Regions from separate parts of the Homo sapiens genome. Here regions 2, 3, 4, 5 and 6 are each linked to region 1. The links are contacts of gene promoters, found by promoter capture Hi-C in blood cells and fetal thymus (Javierre and others, 2016). All regions are on one chromosome and are shown on one strand. The core of a region is centred on a gene start or on the middle of the fragment in contact, and the rest is flanking DNA. Distances in the headings are between cores, read along the strand shown.

Region 1 (2,924 bases), core at 191-2,690:
CAAGTGGTTTCTATAAATTTATTTTTTTAAGGCAAATTCTGTTTCATACTCCCATAAACTCAAAGTACTGGTAATATATTATAAAACCTTATCACTGTAATTTTCCCTGCAGGCAGTAGTTTCAAACCTAGAAACCTATCAAGTCCATAAACTGAGAAAGAAAATATAGTAAGAAAGAATTACTGGGGGCAGGTTCTGAACTTCTACTTTTTTCCCCAAGACACTGTATTACAAAAGGCTCAACATAACTGTACACTATAAAGCCCTTCATAGAGGACGCAACAGCATCAGGTACAGAACCTCCTTTTTGAGGGAAATCAGAATAACGTAAAAGGGAAAAGCAGAGGGAAAATGAGAAATAATTACTTTGGGAGACCACCGCCACATTAGGGTGAAATCTTTACTTTTTTCCCCCCTCTAAGCAACGGACACAGGAAACAATCTTAAGACAAACGTGGTTAACGGAACACGCTACAAAAGGAGAAAATTTAAGGGAAGGCACTCTTAAACATAGTTAAGTATCAAGTGATTAACAGCCACTTCACTGAGCGTCTAAGTCCTACTTTACCCACTCCAAAGGCCACATTCAAAGATAAAATCACAGCAGCGGAGGAAAGGCCACGTGAATAAGCTGCCTTGCAGGAAGGAAAAGCCTTAGGGGAGAAAATGATTTTAGAAAAAGTACTGGAGAACAGACGACGCGGATGCTCATTTCCTAACAAAACGAAACAAAGCAAAGAAAGTCAGTCTGCAGGACTTGTTCGGAAGGAGGGTCGCTGACCCAAGGAAACAAGAGTTGCCGGCATCCAGCAGGAAGGGTGCTCAGACTAGGAGACTGGAAGGGAATCCCGAGGGCGGAACCCACAAGGGAATGAAGAGCCTGTGGGGTAAGGATATGTTAAGGCGAGTGGAGGAGCGTACTAGGTATAAAACAAGCAAAAAAAAGGGGTGGGGCTGGACAGGGCAGCGCCCTGAGCTAATGTCACTCAAAGCCGGGGGGGCGTCCAACGAAAGGAACCAGACCAGCAGCCTGGGGGAAGGGTAATCTGCTTCCTTAGCAGCTGCAGGCTGCAGCAGCCAAGACCACCCCGTTTTCCCTGCCCTGAGCCCCACAAAGTCCCCACGGCGTGGGAAGGGAGTAAGGCAGAGCCCCAGAGCCCAGTGCCCGGAGTCGGCTTTACCTTCGCGGGAGGCTGGAGAGGCTCCAGCCCTAGCTCCTCCCGCCGCCGGCTCAGCTTCCAGAGTGGGATGAGGCGCCCTCCGGCCTCCTCACCCTCACCACTTCCCCTTTCCCCCGCCGGGGCCCTGCAGCTCCGCTGCCGCGGGTTCCTGGTGCCGCCGCGGCGCTGCCTCCCCGCCCCCTCCGCCTCCTCCCTCTGCCTCTCAGAGTTTCACTCTGGAGGCCGCCATCTTCGCTCAGGCTTTGAGCGAGCGCGCTCTAATACGCCTGCGTCGCCACCGCCCAGGCTGTCACGAGACCCAGTCAGCTGATTTCAACTCTTCCGTCTTCTGCCCCGCCCTCCCCGTCCTCCCCGTCCCGATCGTTCTTTCCCTGAAATTCTGCTTTCCTCCGGCCAGCCCCCAGCAGCTACACATGCGCAGAGTAACGACACCGGCCGTGGGATTTGGATTCCACGCAGCGCGTCAGGGGGCTGGCGCCTCGGTGGGTGCTGAAAAGGACACGCCCCTGGGCGCGCGCGGGTGCCCATGACCACGCCCCTCCGGCGGGTGCCCATGACCACGCCCCTCCGGCGTGTGCCTTAGGGCCGCGCCCCTCCGCTTATGTCCTGCGGAGAGTAGGGTCGCAACCCGGTACTTAAGCTTTAAGTCCGAGGAAATCTTGTTTTAAATCACCTCTTTTTAGCTCTTGCCGTCAAGTGCCATGGAGCATCTGCGAGGCAGTCTGAAGCCTCAGCCTATCTCCTGGTTTGGCTGGATTGGGAGCCAGCAGGTTCATTTACTATTGAGACGTCCTGAACGACAGCAGAGCAGGGTTTAAGTTATGGATGCTCTGGAAGGTCTCAGAGACCAAATTCTCAGAGACGCCTAAGGCATTTGCAGGTGGGAATGCTGGAAAGATAGTTCTGGTAGCCCCATTTATTGTGTCCGGATCAAGTGTTTAGAAGTTTACTTAAAGCTGCTTAATCTTCAACTCTCTGAGATACGAATCATCCTCGTTTTGCAGATAAGTTGAGGCCCAGCCTCAGAGTAGTGGATTTCATGTTTGCACCCAAGTAATTTGAACCCAGAACCTGTGCCCTCTAGATAACCATCTTCCTGAACCTCACCTGAGAGGGAAGTCAGGGCAGTGAAAAGAGGGGATATTGGGACTAAAGGATTCGGCTAGAAATTATGTGTTATCTGTGGGCAATGGTTTAAATAAGAAAGGTCAATGTCCACTCCCAGATCTGAGCCGTAAAGACCACAGTTTAAAAATTAGTGATTAAAAAAAAAATAGTGATTCTGCTGCAGACTTCAGAGTAGAGGCAGTGTAGGGTGACCTGCATGGATACATTATTGTATAAGGGTTAAAGGTCTCTGATAAGGAGTTGAATACTCATTCTTCATGGCAGTCCTGAAATTGTGATTTCTTGGCGTCCCCTTCAGCAAGTTGGCTCATTTTATAGACAGCGATTGCAGGATGAAAAAATGTGGAAAAATGGTTTTTACAGACTTTACCTCTTGATTCTATTAACCCTTTGCCCTACCTTAGGGCGGAAAAAGACTATTTGTGTTTATCCTTAGACTTTTCTGTAATGCAGCAGTAAGATAAGGTGCATGTAAGGGAAGGTACTAGGAATAGCTGGGTGTGGGAAGACAGAACCCGAAATAGAGTAGGAAGGGAGGAGGAGGAAAAAGAAACAGGAGGGCTGTGTTAAGGGGCCTTATTGGCTTATCCCATGGAAACAGAAACGTGTTTATGT
Region 2 (3,124 bases), core at 382-2,881, 1.0 Mb before region 1:
ACCTCCCCACTCCCAGCCCTCAGTCTGAGAAAGCCTGCTCCAGTATAATGCTCATTTCAAACACGGCTTCCCCATGAAACTTTTCTATTTATTCACTCATTCATTCTTGCCTTAATTTCTTCAGCACATAATTACTGTTTATGCCAGGCTCTGTCCTGTTTGTTGAGAAACCAGCCGCTACTGTAGGAGATGAGGTTAAAAAGGTAGACAAGACCAGACCATAGAGGGAAGGCCTTGGGCACAATGGAAAGGAGTTGAGATTTACTGGGAAGCCTTTGAAAGGGCTTGAGCAGGTTACAGAGGTGATCTGTGCACTAAGTGGACCCTCTGACTACTGTGGGAAGAGAGGATTGGAGGAGGCAGGAGAAGATGCCAAAGAACCAGTCGGGAGGCTCTTGCGGTGGTCCAGGGAGCCCATTTTATTAATGATGGTGGCCTGGACGAACGATGTGATCATAGGGTAGGTGGAAAAATGTGGACTAGTTTAAGATGCATTTGGGGGATAGAACAGTCGGTTCTTTGTGGTGCAGTAGTTATGGGGAGAGTGAGGGAAAACAATTAGGGGTGACCGCTCCGTTTCATCCTGAGCTGTAGAGAGCATGGTGGGGCCTTTGCTGATTCTCTTCCTCCCTCATTGGCTGGTTCCTGCATCTGAGTCACAGCCCACCCCTGTGGCACATTATCCCTCTCTTACCACATTTAGTATAAATACTTTGTAGACAACGACAGTGTTTTCTTATTCTGGAAACTGGCTCCTCCATTCACAAGCATGGGTCAGTTGCTTAGAGTAAGTAATTCTAAGATTTGGTTTCCTCCCCCATAAAATGAAGATAATAATACTCCCTTCCTCCTGGGAGAATTAAATGAGCCAAGGTGTGTGAGACTCAGCGTATGTGTGACTCAGCAGATTGCCTGGCACAGAGTAAATATTGCATGAACGGTAGCCATTATCATCATTGTTATTTGTCTTTGTACAAAGCAGTTGTTCAATGAATGTCGAATGAATTTGATGGGTTTGTGCAGTCTGGCACTGATCCTGCTTTACTTTTCTGAAGTGCACAGGCAGTTGAATGAAGACTTCCATCTAGTGGCTTGATATATATATATGTATATATATACATATATATTTTTTTCCTTTGTTTTTCCTGTCCATAGTCATCTGAAAAGTCCTAGTCATTTGTACCATGATGGTGAGGACTTTATCTCTTTCTATAATACTACTCCTGTTTTCACTGCGGATGTAGTTATTAAAATAAATGAGCTGGTGGTGGTGGATGAGAGATTTGACCATCATTGTGTTAAAGGAAAGGCAAATACAAGCAGCGTTTTAAAAAAGGTTATCATTTGGGCCCAAGGGTACAATGAATGGTTTGTTTGGAGTAAAGATATTGGCATTCTGGCAGCTAGAGCTGCAGGTGTGGGGAGGAGGTGGGTAAGACTGAGCTCCTGGGAAATTAAACTCAGCTGGTGCAGTGGCAAGATGCAAGATTCCCTTGGAAACCCTTCCCACATTTATTTGACTTTCAAGTTTAGGATGGATGTTCAGCATAACTTGCTTCTAGCAATAAAGGAATGAGAAATAATTCTCAGTCCCTAGCACCCCAGTGATACTGCTCTTAATAACAAGGCCACCGTATTACCAAGCCCGGCAGATGCTTCTCTGTGCTCATATTGACCTGCTGGTTGCATTTGTCACAGATGTACTTTTCTGTCTCGGCTTCCATGACACCACTCTCTCTGGACTTCCTCCTACTTCATTGACCATTCTTTCTTATTATTCTCTGCTTCACCAGGTTTTTCTTCCTTATCTGACCTCTAAATGTTAAAGTTTTTCAAGATTGGGTCTTGGTGCTTCTTTTTTTTAATCACTAAATGGTCTGATCTATCCACACAGATTTAAATGGCATTGTATGTGCTAATGACTTTCACATTTAAATGTCTATCTCAGAACTTTCTGCTCAGCTCCACACTTGCATACTCACCCTCTCTTTGAGGTCTTCACTTGGCTATTTCTCAGACATCTCAAACTTAACATGTCCCCGAATGAAAATCTAGATAATTTTGGCCGGGTGCGGTGGCTCACGCCTGGAATCCCAGCACTTTGGGAGGCTGAGGTGGGTGGATTACCTGAGGTCAGTTGTTCCAGACCAGCCTGGCCAACATAGTGAAACCCCTGCCTCTACTAAAAATACAAAAAATTAGCTGGGCGTGGTTGCACGCACCTGTAATTCCAGCTATTTAGGAGGCTGAGGCAGGATCATGGCTTGAACCCAGGAGGCAGAGGTAGCAGTGAGCTGAGATCGCACCACTGCACTCCAGCCTGGGCAACAAGAGTGAAAATCCATTAAAAAAAAAAAAAAGAAAATCTAGATAATTTCCCCACAAATCTTCCCTTTCCCCACCACCCCTTGATCCTCTTCATCTCAGTAAACAACCCCAATGTCTACCCGGAAACCAAGGGATCATCTTGATCTCTCACTTTCTGTCATCTCCCACATCTCATTTATCACTGAGTCTAGTCAATTCTACCCCCACAATGTATCTCAAATCCATTTATTTCTCTCTACCTCTCTTGACATCACCCTAGTGCAAGTCCCCATCATGCTCTCCTATCCCATTATAATATCCCATTGTAATATCCTTCCAACTCCCTGATCTGTACCTCCCTCCTCCAATGCATTCTGCATCCTGCTTCCAGAGTGGGCTTTTTAAACTCTTAAAATCATATCATGTCACTCTGATTAAACTAAATTAAAACTCTTCAGAGGGGCTAGGTGTGGTGGTTCACGCCTATAAGCCCAGCACTTTGGGAGGACAGGGTGGGTGGATTGCTTGAGCCTAGAAGTTTGAGACCAGCCTGGGCAACATAGCAAAACCCTATCTCTCCAAAAAACAAAACAAAACAAAAAAACAGAATTTATCCAGGTGTCATGATGTGCACCCACAGTCCAGCTACTTGGGAGACTGATGTGGGAGGATCTCTTGAGGCCAGGAGGTCGAGGCTGCAGTGAGCTATGATTGCACCACTGCACTCCAGCCTGAGAGACAGAGTGAAAGTGAAAGCCCATCTCAGAACAAAAACAACACACAAAACAAAACAAAACTCTATAGAAGTGTCTCTTAT
Region 3 (3,239 bases), core at 688-3,187, 1.7 Mb after region 1:
TTTTCATTTCATATAAACTAATTTATTCCCCTTTACTGAACAATGAGAACTACATAAGCCACAAATTTACCTTTTGTGATTAGCTGCCACAATTTCAAAGCTAAATTAATAATTTAACTTTTGTTTGTTTGTTTGTTTGTTTGTTTTTGAGACGGAGTTTTACTCTGTCAGCCAGGCTAGAATGCAGTGGTGTGATCTTGGCTAACTGCAACCTCTGCCTCCCAGGTTCAAGTGATTCTTCTGCCTCAACCTCCTGAGTAGCTGAGATTACAGACACCTGCCACCATGCCTGGCTAATTTTTGTATTTTTAGTAGAGATGGGGTTTCACTATGTTGGCCAGGCTGGTCTCAAACTCCTGACCTCAGGTGATCTGCCCACCTTGGCCTCCCAAAGTGCTGTGATTACAGGCATAAGCCACCACGCCTGGCCAAATTTAACTGAAGTTTAATTTATTAATTCCAAGTACTATTTCTCTGCTCCTTTTGAATGAATATTTATTATTTATTTTTTCATCCTTTTATTTGAGTTAATTTTGTAAAATCACTTCAAATCTTTTGTGGAAGAGAAGTGGTGAAGGATTAGAAGTGGATAATAGTGGAAGATAGAGGAATGGCTTGGATATATGTATTCTGTTTGCCCACCTCCTCCTCTGCAGCCAGCATCTCACTCACTGCCCCTTCAATCCCCCACAGTGGCCTACTCTTTGTTCCTAACTTGTCAAACTTCTCCCCACTGCTAGTCCTTTACCTTTACTCTTCCTTTCGCTTACAACACTATTCCCATTGTTCTTTATTTAGCCAAAACCTGTTCATCTCTTACATTCCAGATTAAATGCCCATATCATGGGCATGTCTTCCCTGACTGCCCCTTATTATATATTCTCGTGGACCCTGTACTTTTTCTCCATAACACTTATTATCAATGAAATCCTTTGATTTTTTTGACTAATCATCTTCTTTAAAAAACGTTAGCCCTTTCATTTCCATTTATTCAAGAACAGTTTTACCCAAGATTATACATTCCAAGAAAATTGGAATCTAGTTCTCCCTATCCTTTGTCTGCCAATTTTTTCATATGTAATGGTGAAAGAGCTTTAGGCCAGGCAGCTTAGGTGTTTTTAAATAAGACCCAGAGAAGTGATAGCAATGAAATAATTACCAACTTTTAAAAACATTTCTGCCACTTTGTTTCTCTCTGAAATATTCAATCTATATTCACATTTCTTCAATTATGCATGAAATGTTTTTTGTAGCTGTTTCTAATCCTGGATCCAGTTGAAGCTCACACATTGCATTTAAATTTCATGTCTCTTTAGAATCTTTTAATTTAGAAAAGTCCATCCATATTTTTCATGGTATTGACTCTTTGAAGAATCCAGGCTAATATTCCATTTTCTGGATCTGTCTGATTGTTTCCTGATGGTATTGCTAAATTAATTTTTCTATTCCTTTTATTTTTTATAGGCTGGAAATTGGTTCTAGAGTGGGGTTGTCTAATAAAAACATAACATAAGCCACATATGTAATTTTAAATTAGTAATCACATTTTAAAAAGTAAAAAGAGGCCGGGAGCGGTGGCTCACACCTGTAATCCCAGCACTTTGGGAGGCCAAAGTGGGCGGATCATGAGGTCAGGAGATCGAGGCTATCCTGGCTAACATGGTGAAACCCCGTCCCTACTAAAAATACAAAAAATTAGCCGGGTGTGGTGGCGGGCACCTGTAGCTCCAGCTGAGGCAGGAGAATGGCGTGAACCCAGGAGCGGAGCTTGCAGTGAGCCAAGATCCCACTACTGCACTCCAGCCTGGGCGACAAAGCGAGGCTCCGTTTCAAAAAAAAAAGTAAAAAGAAAGATTCATTTTAATTAAATATTTCCTTAACCCAATATATCTAAAATATGATTCCAACATATAATACTTATCAAAAATATATTGAGATTTTTTCATTTTTTTGTACTAAGTTCTCTAAAATCTGTATGTTTTCTGTACTAATAGCACATCTCAATTTGTAGTAGCCATATTTCAAGAACTCAATAGTCAAATGTAACTAGTGGCTATCATATTGAGCAGTGAGGTCTAGGGGCTTGATTGAATTCAGGTTACACATTCTTGGCAGCCGGGTGAGGTGACTCACACCTGTAGTCCTAGCACTTTGGGAGGCTGAGGTGGGTGGATCACTTGAGATCAGGAGTTCAAGACCAGTCTGGTCAACATGGTGTAACCCCCATCTCTACTAAAAATACAAAAATCAGCCAGGCATGGTGGCATGCACCTGTAATCCCAGCTACTTGGGAGGCTGAGGCACAATAATTGCTTGAACCCGGGAGGCAAAAGTTACAGTGAGCTTGAGATCATGTTACTGCACTCCAGCCTGGGCAACAGAGCAAGACTGTCCAAAAAAAAAAAAAAAAAAAAAAAAAAGAAAGAAAAGAAAAAAACCAAAAATATTCTTGGCAAGAATGCTTCCTGGGTGACAGTATATATTTCCCATTGCATTATATCAGGAGCCTCATAATATCTGTGTCCTACTATTAATGATACTAACTTTGATCACTTGGATAAAGGGGTTATGAAAAGGTTTTCCACTATAAAAAGTTCATTTTCATTCCTTTTTAACATAGAAAATAATCTGTAGGTATTCCTTGGGTACCATGAGACTATCTTGTTGTTCTACAACTTTTACCCAGTGATTTTAGAACCCATTGACAATCCATGTAGAAATCAATTATTGCACTGCAGGTTACAAAATGGTAATTTCTTATAATTTATTTTGCATGTATTAGCTGGCATTCTTGTATAAGAAGATAAAATATTTACTATTAACTTGAAGGAGCTGTTTACATTAGGGATCCTTCCCCCTTGCCTTATTTTTTCCCTTAGGATGCAAGGATAGCAGAGCTCACGTGGACATCTCACAGGACTGCAAGTGCACTGGTGGAGTAAGCAGCCCAGGAGAGGGAGGAAATGAACAGAGATCAGGCAGATGAATGTATTTATAAAGGCAAGGCTAACTGCTATAATTAATAAATTATGAGATTTTGCTGGCTTATAATGGGGTATACTTTTGCGTATGTAAAAGTTCTATGTGAGTGTGCCTGCTAAGCAAGGGTCTTTCTCCAGGCTGTGATTCGGGGACACAGGCTCCTATCATCTTGTGGCTCTGGCATTAACTAGGGCCTTTAAGTCTTCTGCAACCAGGTTAAAGAGGAAAGAAAGTGGAAATCATTCACCTCTTAACTA
Region 4 (2,928 bases), core at 28-2,527, 1.0 Mb after region 1:
GCCCAAGGCTCACACCTCACTAAAGCCTAGTGGCCCAACCTTCTGCAGGAAAATGACCCAAAACATATTATCTAGCTCTATCAATTAATCTTTCCCACATCTGCTTCTAAACCTCTAGTGGCTACTGCCTCAAAGATGTATTCATACCCTTTCACCAGTGGTTGTCAAAATGTGGTCCTCAGATTATTTGCATCAGCATTATTTGGGAACTTTTGAAAACTACAAATTCTCAGGTTTCCTCTCCCCCCGCCCCACCACCAATGCAGGAATGCTGAGAGAAATCGCTATTTTAATAAGACGCCCCGATGATTCTGCTACCTGCCAAATTTTGAGAACCACCTTCATACATAATCTATCTACTAGCCCTGCCTGAAATATCAGGGCCACATCTCCTACACAAGAAAAGCAAACCCCAAGAATAAAACCTAGGTTGCCACACCTAGATAATGTGATAATCTATCACACTGTCAATAGGGAACAGCAGAGAGACATGGATGAGTGTGTTCTAGAAAGGATCTCTCCTGGTAAAGGGTGGGAAAGACCTTTACAGAAAGCCCAGGTTGGCAGTACTAATTCAGAGTATAGATGATCACGATCCCAACTCCACCAAGAAAGCTGGGGAGAGGGCAAGGTCAGAGGGGCAAAGACTTTTCTCCAGGGATGCTTTCTTGGGGGAGAGAAAGCTTTGGGAGAAGAGGAAATTGGGAAAGGGACAGAGTCCCAGGCTGGTCCCACCTCCAGCCCGTGGTCCTTGGCGCGTGTTGCGCCGGCCTCCACAGCCAACAGCTCCTCGAGCGTCAGACGCTTGGCATAGAAGTGGGCCACAACGCGTGGCCCTGACCCGACGTGGGAGCTGCGGTAGTCAGTGCGCTCCACGCGGAAAGCGGCAGCCGCTTCGCCCAGCTCCTCGCGCAGCTCGCGGTTCAGCCCGTCCTCTAGGCTTCTGTCCTGCGTGTCCACGAATCCGCCGGGGAAGCCCAGGCGTCCATCGAAGCGCATCTGCATCTGCGGGAGGGGGAAGCGGGGATTGGCAGGGGCGCCCCAGAGGAGACCACCAGAGAGGGTGCGGGGCTCAGGCAGAAAGTGGCCGGGCGCGCCCCCTTCTCACCAGTATGGCGTAGCGCAGCGGGATGCGGCCGAAGAGCATCCCAGGGTCCGGCGCGTAGAGGAGAGCGTGGCACGCATGACGCCAGCCCGACCCCAGCGCCAGGGCCTCGCCTAGCTCCAGCCTGCGGGCTCCGGCCATGGCCGGACACTGCTCCTCTGCTGTCCCGAAGGCCCAATGGGCAGAGGGGCGGGTCTCACCTCGGACCAATCCGAGCCTGGGCGGTGCTGCAAGGCCCAATCCCTGCAGGGATAAGGGGAGGAACCTAGGCGCCTGGGGGCGGGGCGCCGCGACCGGTGCGGGAGGCAGCTAATCAGGGCGGGGCTTGCAGACCGGGTTGAAGTCCAGGGCCCAGGAACCCTAGGGTAACCGAAAGCAGCCTCTGGGTTGGGCCTGCGGTGGGGCGGGGCTAGAGGTGTGGCCGCGCCCTAAACCTGGCGCAAGGCCGGTACCTAAAGGCTCCTGGGAGCCAAAAGAGCAAGTCAGGGAACTAGCTTTGGTTGGGTTCGGTGGTACACAAAGCACAAGGCCTGGGTTGGGGTTAGGAGGAAATGAGACTTGCGGCGGGTCGGGGCTGAAGATGTGGCAGCGCCCTGAACCTGGAGAAAGGCTGGTACGTAAACGCCTGCGTCGCAATCTGGAGTCAGCTGGAGTGTCCCGGCAGGTGAGGAAGAGCTGGGGCGCTCAGTTGAGTGCTGGGAGCCAAAGAAGTAATAACTACCTTTGGTTGGGTGTGGTGGTACACAAAGCACAAGGCCTGGGTGGGGGTTAGGAGGAAATGAGGCAGGGTTGGCCTCAGACACCAAGGCCTATCCTAGGGAAATGGAGATGGACAGGCGCCATGGTCTGACAACTATCTTGAGTGGTGAAATTGAGGGGACTTGGTGACTGAGTGAATGGGGAAGAGGGAGCGCTGGGCTAGTGGTGGTTCCGAGTTTCCTGGATGTGGTGTCATTTTCTGAGAGGGGGAGAGTAGGAGAAGGGTGAGCAGTGATAAGTGTAGTTCTAAGGAATTGGGGTGGCCATAGGCAGTGGGCAGCTGATCGTGGGGGTCTGACGCACAGGGAGTGGCACATAGAGAAGTCACAGGGCAGTGAGATTTTCAGGGGAAGGGTGGGGGTGGAAGGAGCTGTGAGTGAAATCCTGTGGCACAGGACTGGGAGTGAGGAGGGGTGAGAGATAGAAGAAGCCTCCTAGGCTTTCTAGTCTTTCCCTCAAACCCCCTCAGACCTCTGAGCTATGAAGGAGGGTGGGTTACCCTACCACAAGGGCAGAGGCCTACTCAGGGCCTGATGCTGAGATGCAGGATCCCTCACTCCAGGCCAGGCCTTCCCCACCCTGCAGAGCGCCCCTACACCAGGTGTCGATATTGATTATGCAATAGAAAGCAGGAGGCAGCTCCTTGAGGGGGGCTGGGCATAAACTCACAGCCTGTAAGTGACGGCATATGGTGGGAAAGAGTCCGGACCCACCCAGAAACAGGTTTGTGACCTTAACAAGTCACTTAACTCTCTCAGATCCCAGCAGCTCATCTGTTAAGTGGAGATGATACCAACCTATTAGGGATGTTGAGATATGTTAGGCACTTAGAACAGTGCCAGGCAGAAAGTAAATGTAGCCATTCTTGGAGTTGAGGGTTGGGGCACAGTGCTATGTCTTACGTTGAGGAGCCAGGGCTGGGCACATACCTATAATCCCAGCACTGTGAGAGGCGAGGTGAGAGGATCATTCAAGGTCATGAATTTGAGACCAGTCTGGGCAACATAGCGAGACCCCGTCTCTACAAAAAATAATAATAATAAATAAAGACCCAAGTGTTGGAA
Region 5 (3,017 bases), core at 156-2,655, 1.1 Mb before region 1:
CAAGAAGAAAAAAGAAGAGAATTTTCAGGCAGATAAAACATAGCATTCATTTGGAAAAATTGATTAAGAATGATGCTAATCAGCCAGGCACGGCTGATTATTGTACTTTTAGTAGAGATGGGGTTTCACCAGGTTGGCCGGGCTGGTCTTGAATTCCTGACCTCAAGTGATCTGCCCACCTCAGCCTCCCAAAGTGCTGAGATTACAGGTGTGAGCCACCGTGCCCAGACTATAAAGCTTGATAAAGTAGAAATGATATGAGCAACAAACAAGAGTGAAAGAGAAGGGAAAAGGAAGAAATATACCTATGCCAATAATTACATGTTTTATAGTATAGAGAGAATTGATACTATGTAAAAATGAAACATGCACTTAAAAGTAATGTATAACATTCCAACCTCTTAACAGCTTTCATTTTTTTAAACCTATAGAAACAGAAGAATCCTATAACAACGAATATTTCCTAAGGTGAAAAAAATGTGTTAAAAGTCTAACATTTCTTTCAATTTAATTTCATTTTTTCTTGTGTTAAGTTCAAGTGAAATTAAACTAAAAACTCAGTTTTCTTAAAAAGCAGCATAAGTTGGGTATGGTGGCTCACTTCCATAATCTCAGAACTTTGGGAGGCTGAGGTGGAAGGATTGTTTGAGCCCAGGACTTCAAGACTAGCCTGGGCAACATAGTAAGACTCCGTCTCTATTTAAAATTTAAGGCCTGGTGTGGTGGTTCAAACCTGTAACCCCAGCACTTTGTGGGGCCGAGGCGGGTGGATCGCTTAAACACAGGAGTTTGAGACCAGCCTGGGCAACATGGTGAAACCCCACCTCTACAAAAAAAAAAAAAAAATTAGCCTGGTGTGGTGGTACATACCTGTAGTCCCTACTTGAGAATCTGAGATGGGAGGGCTAATTGATTGAGCTGGGGAGGTCAAGGCTGCAGTGAGCTGAAATTGCACCGCTGCACCCGCTGCACTCCAGCCTGGGTGACAGAGCAAGACCCTGTCTCAGAAAAAAAAAAAAAAACAAAATCAAAAACAACAACAACAAAAGAACAAAAACAGCATGTATAGCATGAACCTAATCTTTTATACAGTTATAAGAAAATTAGGAAATAAACATTGATACAATATTATTATCTAACTTACAGACTTTATTTAAATTCCATCAGTTGTCCAAAATGTGTCCTTTGTAACAAAAGAAAACAATTTTCTGGTCCAGGATACAATCCAGGTTCATGGGTTGCATTTAGTTGTCAGGTTTCTTTAGTTTTCTTTAATCTGCACAGTTCCTCAGTCTTCCCTTGTCTTTTATAAACTTGATGTTTTTTGGGTTGTACAGGCCAATGATTTTGTAGACTGTGCCTCCATTTGAGCTTGTCTGATGTTTTCTCAGGATTAGATTTGGATTACGCATTTTTGGTAAAAATATCATAGGAGTGATATTTTTTCCTCAATTCATCATCAGAACTGGCCTGTGGTGATGCTGCAGGGAGGGGCAGGGCAATAAATACACTGACCTCACTCTCTTTCGTCCCTCATTCTCCTGCTGGTGCTCCCTATTGCTGGAATACACTGGTGTTCAGCAGGAGGAGCACCCATTCACATAGCCCAGGTACAGAGTAGGTCCTGAAGCCAAGTGCTCAGTCCATGAGGTTTCAGGAGGAAGTCAGGAGTTGCTTTTTAGTGGAGACTAACTGACAACAGTGGTGGACATAGCCTTTCTCAAATATCCTATGACTGTTATTCTCCTACTGTGGCGTGCCAAGGGTTCTATATGTTACCTTTGTCTGCAACAGATACTTCCACAATTATTGGGCATGCTGGTCATAGGTGCAGTGGCAGGCAGCTGGCTCCACACCTCAGCTTGCTACAGATGCCTTTTTGCTCTAGGCCCTGCTCAAAACTTGCAGCCCCTCCATGTGTTCATGCTGATATAAACACACACACACCACACACACACACACACACACACACACACACACACACACAATAGGGAAGAAAGGAACATTCTTTCTTTCTTTCTTTCTTTTTTTTTGAGATGGAGTTTCGCTCTTGTTGCCTAGGCTGGAGTGCAATGGTGCAATATTGGCTCACCACAACCTCCGCCTCCCAGGTTCAAGCAATTCTCCTGCCTCAGCCTCCCGAGTAGCTGGGATTACAGGCATGTGCCACCACGCCCAGCTAATTTTGTATTTTTAGTAGAGACAGCGTTTCTCTATGTTGATCAAGCTGGTCTTGAACTCCCGACCTCAGGTGATCCTCCTGCCTTGGCCTCTCAAAGTGCTGGGATTACAGGCGCGAGCCACCGTGCCCGGCCAGAACATTTTTTCTTATAGAAGAAAGCCAACTAAAAAATGTAGAAGAAATGATGGAATTTGAAAATCACCATTTGGCAACCATAATAAGTAATAATTGACGTGGGCAGGAATCATCAATTGATGCTAAAACTAAAACTTCTGGGACAGAAAGTTTGAGGAATAACAATATTTACTCAAAATAGACTAAAAATATTTTTCCACAAGATACTTACTAATTACAAATGGAAAAACAGTAACTTTACAGTGGAGAAGCTTGGCACACGCCACCTGAACCCAGTAAACAAAATTAATATCACCAGGAGAGGGACATATTGATATCACATGCCTCCTGGTGAGTTTTATGGTATTCCAACTGAAAGTGTGCAACTTGAATCTAACCTGAGGAAATACCAGAACTCAAGTTGAGGAGTATTTTGTAAAATAACTGCCCTGTTGAGACGGATTGAACTGTGACTCCAAAAAAAGATATGTTGAAGTTTGAATCCCCACTATGTCAGAACGTGACCTGATTTGGAAATAAGAGTTGTTGCAGATGTAATTAATTAAGATGAGGTCCTACTAGAGGAGAATGGGCCTTTAATCCAATATGACAGGTATCCTTATTAGAAGAGAAGAAAAGCCACAGAGACACAGACACGCAAAGGGAGAACAACACGTGAAGACAGAGGCAGGGGCTGCAGGGCTGCAGCTGCAAACCAAGG
Region 6 (2,870 bases), core at 300-2,799, 1.1 Mb before region 1:
AGAAATATTAGAATCCGTGGAGCTAGAATAGAATGCTTTATTTACTGGATTACCTTGGTAAAGTCACCTCACCTCTCTGTGCCTTATTTCCTACAAGCATAAAAGCTAGCCAGAAATATTCACCTCACAGAGGTATTATGAAGATTCTATGAGATCATGGACACAGAAGTGCCTGACACCTGGTTATGCTGGATCAGAGAGAAAAGAATGAAGAAATTGGAGCTAAGGAGATGTGGATTTAAATCTTGACTCCACGACTTATAACGACAACTACCATGAATTCAGTAATTTCTATGTACCAGGCTCTGTGCATTACCTTTTTTTTTTTTTTTTTCAGACGGAGTTTCGCTCTTTCGCCCAGGCTGGAGTGCAGTGGCATGATCTTGGCTCACTGCAACCTCCGCCTTCCAGTTTCAAGCAATTCCTCTACCTCAGCCTCCCAAGCAGTTAGGACTATAGGCACCCGCCATCACGCCCAGCTAATTTTTGTATTTTTAGTAGAGACGGGGTTTCACCATGTTGGCTAGGCTGGTCTCGAACTCCTGACCTCGTGATCTGCCCGCCTTGGCCTCCCAAAGTGCTGGGATTACAGGCGTGAGCCACTGTGCCCGGCCCTCTGTGCATTATCTTTAAAATCCTTGCAACGAGATAAATCAGCGGGCCGGGCTGGCGGGTCGGTGAGCGCGGCCCGGGCCGGACATGGCGGCGCTCTACGCCTGCACCAAGTGCCACCAGCGTTTCCCCTTCCAGGTGCTGTCTCAGGGGCAGCAGCTGTGCAAGGAATGTCGGATTGCACACCCTGTTGTGAAGTGCACCTACTGCAGGACTGAGTACCAGCAGGAGAGTAAAACCAATACAATATGCAAGAAATGTGCTCAGAACGTGCAGTTGTATGGAACGAGAAATTAAGGTGGACTGTGTTAAAAACACATTTAATAGGCCGAGCGTGGTGGCTCATGCCTGTAATCCCAGCACTTTGGGAGGGCGAGGCAAGAATCATGAGGTCAGGAGATCAAGACTATCGTGGCTAACACGGTGAAACCGCGTCTCTACTAAAAATACAAAAAATTAGCCAGGCGTGGTGGCATGCGCCTGTAGTCCCAGCTACTCGGGAGGCTGGGGCAGAAGAATCACTTGAACCCGGGAGGCAGAGGTTGCAGTGAGCTGAGATCATGCCACGCACTCCAGCCTGGGTGACAGAGCAAGACTCCATCTCAAAAAAAAAAAAAACAAAAAAAAAAAAACACATGTAACAAAGAAAGATTTCTCAGTTTCTTTCCTGGTTCTATTATTGACCTTAAAGAAGATATTCATATTTTGTTTTGTTCATTCATAAAATGTGGACCATTATATTCTAACATTTCACGAGAATATGAATTACAGTCATCACGTAAGTGAAATGGTGATTGCCAGAATTCTGTGGAATCCTGTAAAGGAGAGATTGTAACTTAAGCAAGATGGAGTGGCATTACCAGTTTTACTATCTGGCTCTTTAAATGTTTCTATCTGTTGAAATTCAAGATTACAAGATTACGTTAGAGGGAAGCTCTACGTGGAAGGGTAGACCTTGATAGAATCAAAATGATTTAGAGTTTGGGCATATTACTCTCTTGCTTAAAATCCTCCACGGGTTTCCAGTTGTGCTTAGAATAAAACTGAAATCCCTTCTATGGCCTGCAAGGCCCATACCCAGCTCTCAGTCTCATCTTGCATCATACTTTCTACCTCTCACCTTGCTCCAGCCATCCTGGCCACCACCCTGTAGTCTGTCTGACATGCAGATCTCACTCCGACCTTTGCACTGTCTGTCCTTGTGCCTAATGCACCCTTCTCTAGAGTCTCATAACTGGCTGATCATGTCAGGTCTCAGCTCAGGTACCACCTGCTCACAGTGACCTTTTACTGACTCCCTTAGTCATTATTTATCATACCATTTTATTGTCTTCATAGCATCTCACATATTGAAAACTAGTCTTGCTTATTTGGTTACATGTTTGTCCACCCCGACTAGAATGTGAGCTCTTTGTCCATCTCATTCTCTGCTTTATTTCCAGTGGCCTGGCACATAGTAGCTGCTCAATAAGTATTTGTTGAATAAAAGATGGCAGTTGAGAAACTCTTTTTCAGTGACCAGAGGTGCTTTTAAGAGGTGCTTGGGCTCAAGGGGTGACTCTTGCTTACCAAATTCATTAACTTACAATGGAAGGATATAACTTTCCATTGACCAGGATACTCCTGCCTGCCAACCAGGACACCTCTTCCCTGTATCAAGATACTGAAGAATCTTAATTAGTAATCAGGAGGTAGCACAAGCAGCAGTCCCCCAAACCTGGGTCCCATCTGACTCCTGGGGCTAGCTGAATGACCCTGGCTACTTGGCCGCATTATGCATCACTTTCTTCATCTTTCTCCATGGGAATAACAATAGTTATTGTCTCACAAAGACATGTCTCACAAAGACATGGGGAAATGTAATTCAGATAGGTATATAAAACAATAATATTGAACCTGGCACATAATATAACTCAGAAAAAAATAAATAAATAAAATCCTTGCAACAACTCAGCATGAATGAAAGAATCATGATTATTATCCTCATTTTACAAATGAGGAAACTGAGGCACAGAGAGGTTAAAATAACTTGCCCAAGGCTTCACACAGGTAAGTGGTGAAGCCAGCCTATCTGATTCCAGAGCTTGTACTTTCTAGCTATGTAATTTAGTATAAGCCCCATAAGTTTTCTTATCCTCAGTTTCTACAGCTATAAAATGAGGGCATCTTTGTGAGGATTAAGAATAATGTATATAGGCTGGGCGTGGTGGCTCATGCCTGTAATCATAGCACTTTGTGAGGCTGAAGTGGGCAAATCA

What was found. The method cuts DNA at HindIII sites, captures the fragments that hold promoters and counts their contacts. A CHiCAGO score of 5 or more calls a contact.
Region 2: a contact is called between a fragment that was not itself captured here and the fragment with the promoter of DNAJC13 in region 1, in 1 of 17 cell types (fetal thymus). The highest score is 5.1, in fetal thymus.
Region 3: a fragment that was not itself captured here is called in contact with the fragment with the promoter of DNAJC13 in region 1 in 1 of 17 cell types (fetal thymus); the score reaches 5.4 in fetal thymus.
Region 4: the fragment with the promoter of NUDT16 here is called in contact with the fragment with the promoter of DNAJC13 in region 1 in 2 of 17 cell types (total B cells and activated CD4 T cells); the score reaches 8.3 in total B cells.
Region 5: a fragment that was not itself captured here is called in contact with the fragment with the promoter of DNAJC13 in region 1 in 1 of 17 cell types (non-activated CD4 T cells); the score reaches 5.4 in non-activated CD4 T cells.
Region 6: a fragment that was not itself captured here is called in contact with the fragment with the promoter of DNAJC13 in region 1 in 1 of 17 cell types (M0 macrophages); the score reaches 6.0 in M0 macrophages.

Annotation. Positions count from the first base shown.
Region 1 is chr3:132,416,018-132,418,941 of GRCh38, reverse strand. DNAJC13 (DnaJ heat shock protein family (Hsp40) member C13) reads right to left here and starts at 1,440. Exons shown (of 56, transcript NM_015268.4): 1 at 1,182-1,440. RefSeq lists enhancers at 576-1,111, 1,051-1,200 and silencers at 1,231-1,370, 1,651-1,750. The HindIII fragment of the contact is 2,245 bases long and covers 1-1,823 here.
Region 2 is chr3:133,442,099-133,445,222 of GRCh38, reverse strand. All of the region lies in intron 1 of BFSP2 (beaded filament structural protein 2), which reads right to left. The region is part of intron 2 of BFSP2-AS1 (BFSP2 antisense RNA 1); the gene reads left to right. Among named protein-coding and RNA genes, the nearest start is that of BFSP2, 44 kb to the right of the region's middle. RefSeq lists an enhancer at 2,986-3,124. The HindIII fragment of the contact is 3,562 bases long and covers 1-3,124 here.
Region 3 is chr3:130,751,038-130,754,276 of GRCh38, reverse strand. It overlaps LOC107986023 (a long non-coding RNA gene), which reads left to right. Exons shown (of 3, transcript XR_001740492.2): 3 at 2,880-2,974. Among named protein-coding and RNA genes, the nearest start is that of PIK3R4, 5.8 kb to the right of the region's middle. The HindIII fragment of the contact is 3,872 bases long and covers 2-3,239 here.
Region 4 is chr3:131,380,123-131,383,050 of GRCh38, reverse strand. It overlaps NUDT16 (nudix hydrolase 16), which reads right to left and starts at 1,277. Exons shown (of 3, transcript NM_152395.3): 1 at 1,109-1,277; 2 at 736-1,005. The coding sequence starts at 1,246. It overlaps NUDT16-DT (NUDT16 divergent transcript), which reads left to right and starts at 1,576. Exons shown (of 4, transcript NR_038976.1): 1 at 1,576-1,718. RefSeq lists enhancers at 269-837, 838-1,407, 1,699-1,968 and a silencer at 1,289-1,588. The HindIII fragment of the contact is 2,474 bases long and covers 686-2,928 here.
Region 5 is chr3:133,494,720-133,497,736 of GRCh38, reverse strand. No RefSeq gene overlaps it. Among named protein-coding and RNA genes, the nearest start is that of BFSP2-AS1, 5.1 kb to the right of the region's middle. The HindIII fragment of the contact is 2,331 bases long and covers 240-2,570 here.
Region 6 is chr3:133,544,101-133,546,970 of GRCh38, reverse strand. It overlaps the pseudogene FAM76AP1. Among named protein-coding and RNA genes, the nearest start is that of CDV3, 28 kb to the left of the region's middle. The HindIII fragment of the contact is 5,393 bases long and covers 1-2,870 here.